Linked DNA regions of Homo sapiens: region 2 is linked to region 1. Evidence: promoter capture Hi-C in human tissues and cell types (Jung and others, 2019). All regions are on one chromosome and are shown on one strand. Each heading gives the region's core, a stretch centred on a gene start or on the middle of the fragment in contact. The rest is flanking DNA. Distances are from core to core; before and after follow the strand shown. Region 1 holds the start of NEUROD6 (neuronal differentiation 6). Region 2 has its middle 73 kb from the start of NEUROD6.

The links. Contacts are between HindIII fragments. The study calls those that stand out against the background at their distance.
Region 2: a fragment that was not itself captured here is called in contact with the fragment with the promoter of NEUROD6 in region 1 in 4 of the 25 tissues and cell types used here (bladder, dorsolateral prefrontal cortex, hippocampus and 1 more).

The regions. Positions count from the first base shown.
Region 1 is chr7:31,338,118-31,342,221 of GRCh38, forward strand. NEUROD6 (neuronal differentiation 6) reads right to left here and starts at 2,609. Exons shown (of 2, transcript NM_022728.4): 1 at 2,476-2,609; 2 at 1-1,172. The coding sequence starts at 1,151. The coding sequence ends at 138. The HindIII fragment of the contact is 16,561 bases long and covers 1-4,104 here.
Region 2 is chr7:31,265,628-31,269,801 of GRCh38, forward strand. No RefSeq gene overlaps it. Among named protein-coding and RNA genes, the nearest start is that of NEUROD6, 73 kb to the right of the region's middle. The HindIII fragment of the contact is 4,282 bases long and covers 11-4,174 here.

The DNA.
Region 1 (4,104 bases), core at 1,359-3,858:
CACAATAGTTGAAACACACTTCAGAAACTAGTAAACACCTTAGATAGAGTTGTGCCAATTACTCAGCCCACAAGCATCTGCTTTGTCTTAATTAGACAGGGGAGGTGAATGACCACTGTTTATTTTCATTTTCCTCATTAATTATGAAAAACTGCATTTAATTCATCTTGCATTGTGAGAGATTGGCTGCGCAGATGTAAGTCGTAAGGGAAGTGGCTGTCGGTGGGCAACCTGAACATGGCACCCTGCCCAAGGGGACCCCTGGGTGGCACTGCACAGTAATGCATGCCGTAATTGTAATTTTTACCATAGTCCAAGGTTTCTTCTTGCTTCAGGGAAAATATCCCATTATAGTTAATTGGGGGAGGACTTAAGGGACCTTCAAACTGAGGGCTGGCACACTCAGGGGAAGTACTTTCATAGAAGGATTCATACGCACTGCAATAATTGTAGGGTTTCATGGACTTGGAATTATCAAGAGTCCCATGCCCTGGGGGAGTGGTGAGCTCAGGGCTGTGGTAGGGTGGGTAGAAGGTAGAGTAGGGTGACCTTGTGTGGTGTGCAGCCTCCCCACCCTGACCCATCAGGAAACTCCTGGCGTTGAGCTGCAAGCAGCCTGCCACCAAGTTTGTAGTTGGCTGGGAAAGACCTTTGCATAAGTTTTGGACGAATGTGAGCAGATCTGGTCTCTTGCCGATTCTCAGAATTTCAGAAAGTGCCCAGATGTAGTTTTTGGCCAGTCGTAAAGTCTCTATTTTGGACAGTTTCTGGGTTTTAGAATAACAGGGGACCACTTTTCTTAAGTTGTCCAGAGCGTCGTTGAGGCCGTGCATCCTGTTCCTCTCGCGCGCGTTCGCTTCCTGTCTCCTGAACTTGACCCTTTCCAATCGCAGCTTTGTTGTCTTTTTTTTCCTAAGACCCCTCCTTCTAGGCAACCCATTTTCATCTTCCTCTTCCCTGTCTTCCTCCTCTTCTTCTTTCTCGGTTTCTTCTCCAGGGGCCCTTTTGATGCTCTTTCCTCGAAGGACAATCTGTTTGGAAAAGCTTTCTGGCTTCTTAATTTGCTTCTGGTCCTCGCATTCTCTAGAAAACTTTCTGCACATCTGGGATTCTGGCATTACAACAGACTCATCAAACGGTAGTGTTAACATGGTTCTCTAATCTTAAATTACCTGAAAAAATGCCAGCACAATATTTAAAGAGTTTTCATTTTTAAAGTTTATACACTTAAAACATATTTAATTATTTAATCATAAGATTACAAAAACACGTGAAAAAGACTGATTCTGGGCCTGATTTTTTAACATTAAATATAATTTTGAGTTTGTGAAGATAAGTAATTATGAAGACATTGATGCATTCAATAGGATTATTTATATGAGCAAATTATCAAAAGAAAATAAAAATGAAACATATAATTATTGTGATATCATTACCATCTACATTTCTCTTTGCCTTTAAACTGGATTTTAATACCCCCAAAAAAGATTGTGGAATTCAAGCAAATGCAAAACATGAAATTGCAATGCAGAATTTCATTAATTCCAATTCCCCTGAGCACAAAATGAGAAGATAAACCAGTTTTTAAAATGGACTATCTCTCCATTAGCTGACAAATTTGTGTTCTTTTTTTAAAACAAACAAACAAACAAACAAAACCTTAACTTTATTTGCTGTATCACACAACTGTGAATTTAGATAAGTGGGTGTGGGAATATACAAATTTAAAGAAAAGATTATAATCAGAGTCAATTTTTCAACTGATTTTTTCTGATCAGTAAAGAATTATGTAAAAGGGCACTATTTTCCCAGGCTTCAAAAAGAAAAGGGGATTAGGCTAATTTGGAATAAACTCTATAAATAAATTTAAAACATAAAAATCACTAGCAATTTCTTTTAATTAAAAAAAATAGAGACTGATTTTATTTACATTTAAATTTTTTCCAAATAGAATTGTCTGTTTACTGCTGTTCAAATCATCCTGGACAAAAACCACTCTCGTAGTGTTTTTGTTCTACGAGCCATAGAAGTCTCCCTCTAGCTAATATCTGACAGGAACGGTCCAAGGATTCTGACTGCAATTGTGCACGTGTGTTCAGAATCCCAAATGAAAGGGGAAAATAATTTGTGTTTCAAATGCATTTTGGTTTTTGTCTGGTGAAGCAGCAAGTATTTTCATCTAAAGTCTTCAAACAAATAGGCACATTAAAGCAGAGACTTTTCAATTTAACAATCTCCAGCCCCCTCAACACACACATATACACACGAACACATACACAAACTCTTAGTAATGTCCACATACTTGCAGTGTTACATAATAGCAGTGAAAGTATGTGATAATTACATCATAAGAATGAAATATGATAAGTTATAGATGGCAAAGAGCATATAAATACTATAAGACAGTGACACTGTATCTTTAAATACTTGCATGCAAAGCCAGCATCAATTGAAGTATATCTTTATTTATATTACCTTAGGTTTTAATTTCATTCAATAATCAGTTTTCATTTTGGGTCTTCCAAATCTTTTCAGGCTGAGTGTCGCATCGTCTCCTGGAGTCTCTAGATCTGTGTATATCTGCACTATCTCATTGATCTCTAAAAAGTGACATTGATGCCAACTGCCAGAGCTGGTACCCATGCCATCTGCTAGTGACGTCACAGGGCAGAGAGAGCCATGTGATCCTCTCTCTTGGGACCTTCATTCTGCACTGATCATCTGGCATCCCTGTAAGTGGGTACCAGCCTTCATGCATCAACACAGAAGGTTAGACTGATAGGAAAAAAATCTGCACCAGCATTTCACGTACAGTAGGTGCATTTCTCCTCGAACTGCTTCGGTTTCACTGGCAATCTGTAGAAATAGCTGTGTTAGTGTTCAGTTTCGCCCTGCCAAAGGTGCAAGTATTAGGTGATCGTTAATATTCCATTCATTTACAAGGTGGGCTTTTGTGTGAGCAAGAGGTTTTTTTTGTTGTTGATGATGTTGTTTTGTAAAGATCACCATCCCATTTGTGCACCTGGGTACCCAGGGAAAGAAAGCCGTGAAAAGGAGCTGGAAACTGGTCTTAAGACGTTTAACCAAACTAAGATTTGTGTAAGTGAACAGGGGTCAAAAAAGGTCTCCTTTGCTTGTTTTGTTTCACAGCGTGTAACTTATGAGTGTGTGTCTCTGTGTTCTCTTATTAACATGTAAGACTTCTGTGCTTCTTAGGCATTTGGAATAAAAGAACAGCTTCTCCATCTGGGGTCTGTGAAAGACATCCTCAAATACTCCCCTTCCTACACTTGCTGGTATCTTTCACCAACTTTTGCAGAGACACTGCAAGTCCGTTGTTAAGGATTTCAAACTACATACTTTGTCCTCTGCAGAAAGTCACTAACTTCACTCTTTTATTGTCCCTTATCTCTTCCCAGCGTTAACTTGCTTGTTCCCTCTCATTTCATTTCAGACACAATAAACATAAAAATTATCACTTAGGTGTTTGTCTTCCTCTCCCTGACATTCTGCTGAGTATTTTAATCAAAGATTAGCTTTCCTGTTTTTGTTTTTTTTTCTTTTTTTTTGACTTTCAGATTTTTTTCTTTCTCTTAAAAATCTTGTCCTCACATTTTTCTCTAGACCAACATCAATTTAAATATCTTCTTGTTCTTGTATCAGTGTCCAGTTGTTTTTCCCTGTCAGGTGTATTTCAGATTTATCTTTTTTCCCCGCTCCACACTTTTGGTTTCTTCTTAACAAAAGCAGGGTGGAAACAGTTAAGCAAAGCTGGCAAAGCCTTATAGATAATACGAACTGTGGAGGCAGAGACAAACTCCACCTTCCTCCTGTTTTCTCTTCTCCCGTGCCCCCACCCCTATAAAGGACATTTGATTTCAGGATTGCCTGCCAGTAAAGTAAAAAGTGCACTTAAAAAAAATAAGTAAAAGTTTTAAAATAAACAAATAAACGCAACCTTTGTTGTTTGGCAACTGAGTAATCTCTTTCTATAAAGTGAGAGAGTATGCTTTTGGTATTAAAGTAATCCCTGCAGAGCTGTAACTGTTGAATCTGTGTTAGCATTCCCCTTATAAATCCCAGTTTTGCAAGGTTTAGAATTCT
Region 2 (4,174 bases), core at 902-3,401, 73 kb before region 1:
TTTAAAAAACTCAATGTTACTAGGGGCTTATAAATTTTATTAGATTTTTCAAAGAACCAACTTTTGACCTTGCTGATTAACTCTATTTTTTTATTTCATTAGTATCTGTTCTTATTTAACATGTTTCCTTTCTTCTTTTGGTTTAATTTGCTCTTATTCTATACTTTTTTGAGACTAATATTTCACTTACTTATTTTCAGTCTTTCTTATTTCTTAAAACATGCATTTAAGGCTATAGATTACTTTTGAATAGTGACTCTACATGTATCCCCCAAGATCTGACATGTTATATTTTTATTATTTCAGTCTAACATTTTTAAACATTTCCATTGAGATTCTTCCTTAATCCTGTGTTATGTCAAAGAGTACTTCTTAATTTCCATACATTTGGAGATTTTATGGGTTCTTTGTAACTAATTTCTGGCTTGATTCCACTGTGATCAGAGAACATATTCGGCTTGATTATAGTACAGCATATGGTCATTTTGGTAAGTGTTCCAAACACAAGTTGAGAATCATACATACTTTCTGCTTTTGTATATAGTTATTGGTTTCAAATTTTTATACCACTTTGTTCAAAATTTCTAATTTTTACTCAACTTTTGTCTGCTTCTCTATCAGTTACTGAGAGAGGTATGTTAAGGATCTCAATCTAAAATCTAATACTGTGGGTTTCTCTATCTTATTAGTTCTATTGATTTTTGCTTTACATATTTAAGCTTATCTTATTCTTTTTACATATTCTTGATGAAGTAACACTTTTATCATTATGAAATATTTCTTATCTTTGGTAATATGTTTTTGCATTACATTCTACTAATCTTATATGAATTTAGATATGCCAGCTTTAAAATATTTTATTATTTTGGTTAATATTTGTATGCCATCTTCTTCCATATTTTCAAACTTTCTATGCCTTTGTATTTGAAGTGTGTCTTCATTATGCAACATATAGTTGGGTTTCATCCTTATTTAGTCTTAAAATCTTTTTCTTTCAATTGGAATTTTTAGTTTATTTTTAATATATGTAATTACTGATTTTTTAACTTAAAGCTTTTATATTACTATTTTTCCATTTGTTTCATTTTTTCAATAGTCCTCTTTCTCTGTTTTTTCTATTTCTTGATTTCCTACAGGCTCCTGATAACAATAATTAGAAAAGCCAGATAAAATTCAAACAAACCGAAAGTATAGCCACTTGAATCATTAGCGAGTACCAAGGTATCCAAGTCATAAAGACCCAATATTCCAGAATAAAGAAAACTCACGTAGGTGTATATGATCTCTTCTGTAATTTTCCAAAAATTTCCCTTTAGTTCTTCAATGTAGATATTTTCTACTGACCCACCTTCCAAAACATGAATCTTCTGTACAGTTGTGTCAAATTTAATATTTAATCCACCTATTGAGTTCCTAGATTAAATGTTTATTTTTACATTCTAGATTTTCAACTTGATTGTTCTAATTGTTTAGCTTTATTTTACCATCATGTCTTCTATTTTATTAAACATGTTTTTAATAGTCATTTTAAAGCCCGTTTATGAAAACTCAGTTGTCTGGATCACTTTTAGATTTATTCCTATTGTTTATTTTCTGTTCTATTCTTTCTCTTTTGGAAGAAAAGAATAATTGTATGGCAGACATTGTGTATGAAATATTGACATCTTTCTCTATGAGTTTAGCTTGTGACAGTCAGAATAGGGAAAATTACCCTATTCCAATCAGGGATTAAACAGTTTTAAGGTTGTGTTTCAGACTTTGTAATGCTTGGTCTATTTGTGTTTTCTCTAATTCCTAGGTTGTGATTCTAAGGGATCCCAAATGAAAACTTGGGGTGTTTATCGCTGTCCGTCTTTCTTGAGAGGCCCTTAACTTCATTGAAAAATATCTTCCTAGCATTGTGAGACTGCCAAAAGCTTTGAACTTCTTGGCTCCCACTCTCTTCTAAGCTTCTCTTGTTCTAAGCTTCTCTTGAAGGACAAGCTTCTCTTGTTTCTTCTATGCTGTCGAAATCAGGAATCAGCAAATGCTTCAAGGGGAAAAGCTGCATATTTTCAGTCTCACATCTGCTTCCTTTCTCTTAGCTCCTCAACTCCTGGATATCTTAGTGGCCCTGAACTCCACCTTTTTTTCTCACTAGATCTTGAGATTGCTAAAAGCTGTCCTCTGTTTCTTAGCAGCCTGTTTTTCTCCTTTTCTCAGCTTCTTTGCCTGTACAATTTTGAGTCATCTCAGTTTCCTGTCTCCTAAGGATCTTGGCCCTTCAAGTTCTGGCTACCTTGGTAATCCTCTGTTGCCTTCAAATTTCTTTTTAATCTAATTATTCTAGTTGTTATTAGTGGGAGGTTTGGTCTGCTATAAATTAATCCCTGTCACAAATGGAATGCCTTTTTCCTTTTCTTTTTTTTTTCAGCTACATAGTATACCATTGTATAGCTATTCTAAAATTTCTTTATGCAGGACCTAGTTATGGATACTTAGGTTGTTTCCAATGTTTACTATTGCAAAGCATAAAGCAGTAACTTATATGTACATTATAAATTGTATAATTAATGGTAACTTCGTATGTACATAATTCTATGTGCATTATCTATACAGTTGCACACATATACAAATATATATAAAACAAAGTCTTAGAATAAAATTGCTTAATCAAAGGGAATGTTCATTTGTATTTTGATATACATTGCCTATTTTCCTTTGTAGAACTTATACCAATTTATATTCCAAAGATTATATGAACATGCCTATTTTCCCACAGCTTAACAACATACTGTGTTATTTTAATTTTGACATTTGTCAATGGTAGCTTAAGAAATGGTATCTCATTATAATTTTAATTTGCATTATTTCTATTGTGGGGGAGGTTGAACATTTTTCATGCAGTTAAAGCCTCAAGTTAACACACTGTTCTATAGATTTGTTGTAGATGACCAACATTTCACAGACTATATATCACGACATTCACATAAAATTTTCTGCAAAAATTATGTTGTATCATATATTTGCCCCTTTTGGCAATTCATAAAAAAGCCTCTGAGAAAAGAAATTCCTTGAAATGTTTTATTGTGGAAAAAATATATATATAACATAATTATCATCTTAACCAGTTGTAAGTATGTGATTTAGTAGCACTAAATACACTCACAACATTGTGTGGCTATCACCAGTATCCATACCCAAAATGTTTTCATCATCTGTAACGAAAACTCTATGTCCACTACTCCCTTTCCTTCCACCTCCCAGCCCCTGGTAACCTCTACTCTATTTCCTGTCTCTTTGAATTTGCCTGTTCTAGGTACATCATATAAGTATAATTTTACAATATTTATCCTGTGTCTGGCTTCTTGTACTATGCATGTTTTCAAGGACCATCCATGTTGTAGCATATATCAAAATTTCATTCATGTTTATGGCAGAATAATATACTATCATGCGCATATTCCCTTTATGTGTTGGTGGGCATTTGAATTGTTTCCACATTTTGCCCATTGTGAATAATGCTATGAACATCAGTGCACAAATGTGTTTGAGTCCCTGCTTTTAATTCTTTTGGATATACACCTAGGAGTGAAATTGGTGGGTCATATGGTAGTTCTATTTGAACTGTTTAAGAAATTGCCACATTGTTTTCTACATAAAATGTACCATTTTGGATTCTCCCCAGCACTTATGAGGCTTCCAATTTCTCCACGTCCTTGCCAACACCTGCCATTTTCCCTTTTTAAAAATTATAGCCATCCTAGTAGGTGTGATGTGCTATCCATGGTCATTTTGACTTGCATTTTTCTAATGATTAATAATGTTAAGCATCTTTTCATGGGTATATTGGACGTTTGTATATCATACTTGGTGAAATGTCTATTCATGTCCTTCATCTACTTTTTAATCTAGTTGTTTGACTTTTTGTTGTTGAGTTGTAGGAGTTTTTAAAATATAAATTTTGAGTATCCATCACTTATTAAGTATATAACTTATAAATATTTTCTCCCATTCAGTAGGCTGTCTTTTTACATTACTTTCAGCAATGTTGTAGTTTTAAGTATATGAGTCTTTTACTTCTTTCTTTAGATTTATCATAAGTATTTAATTTCTAATTAGTTAAGATTTATTCCTAAGTACTCCTAAGTATTTAATTACTAAATACTAAGTATTTAGTAATAAACATAAACCT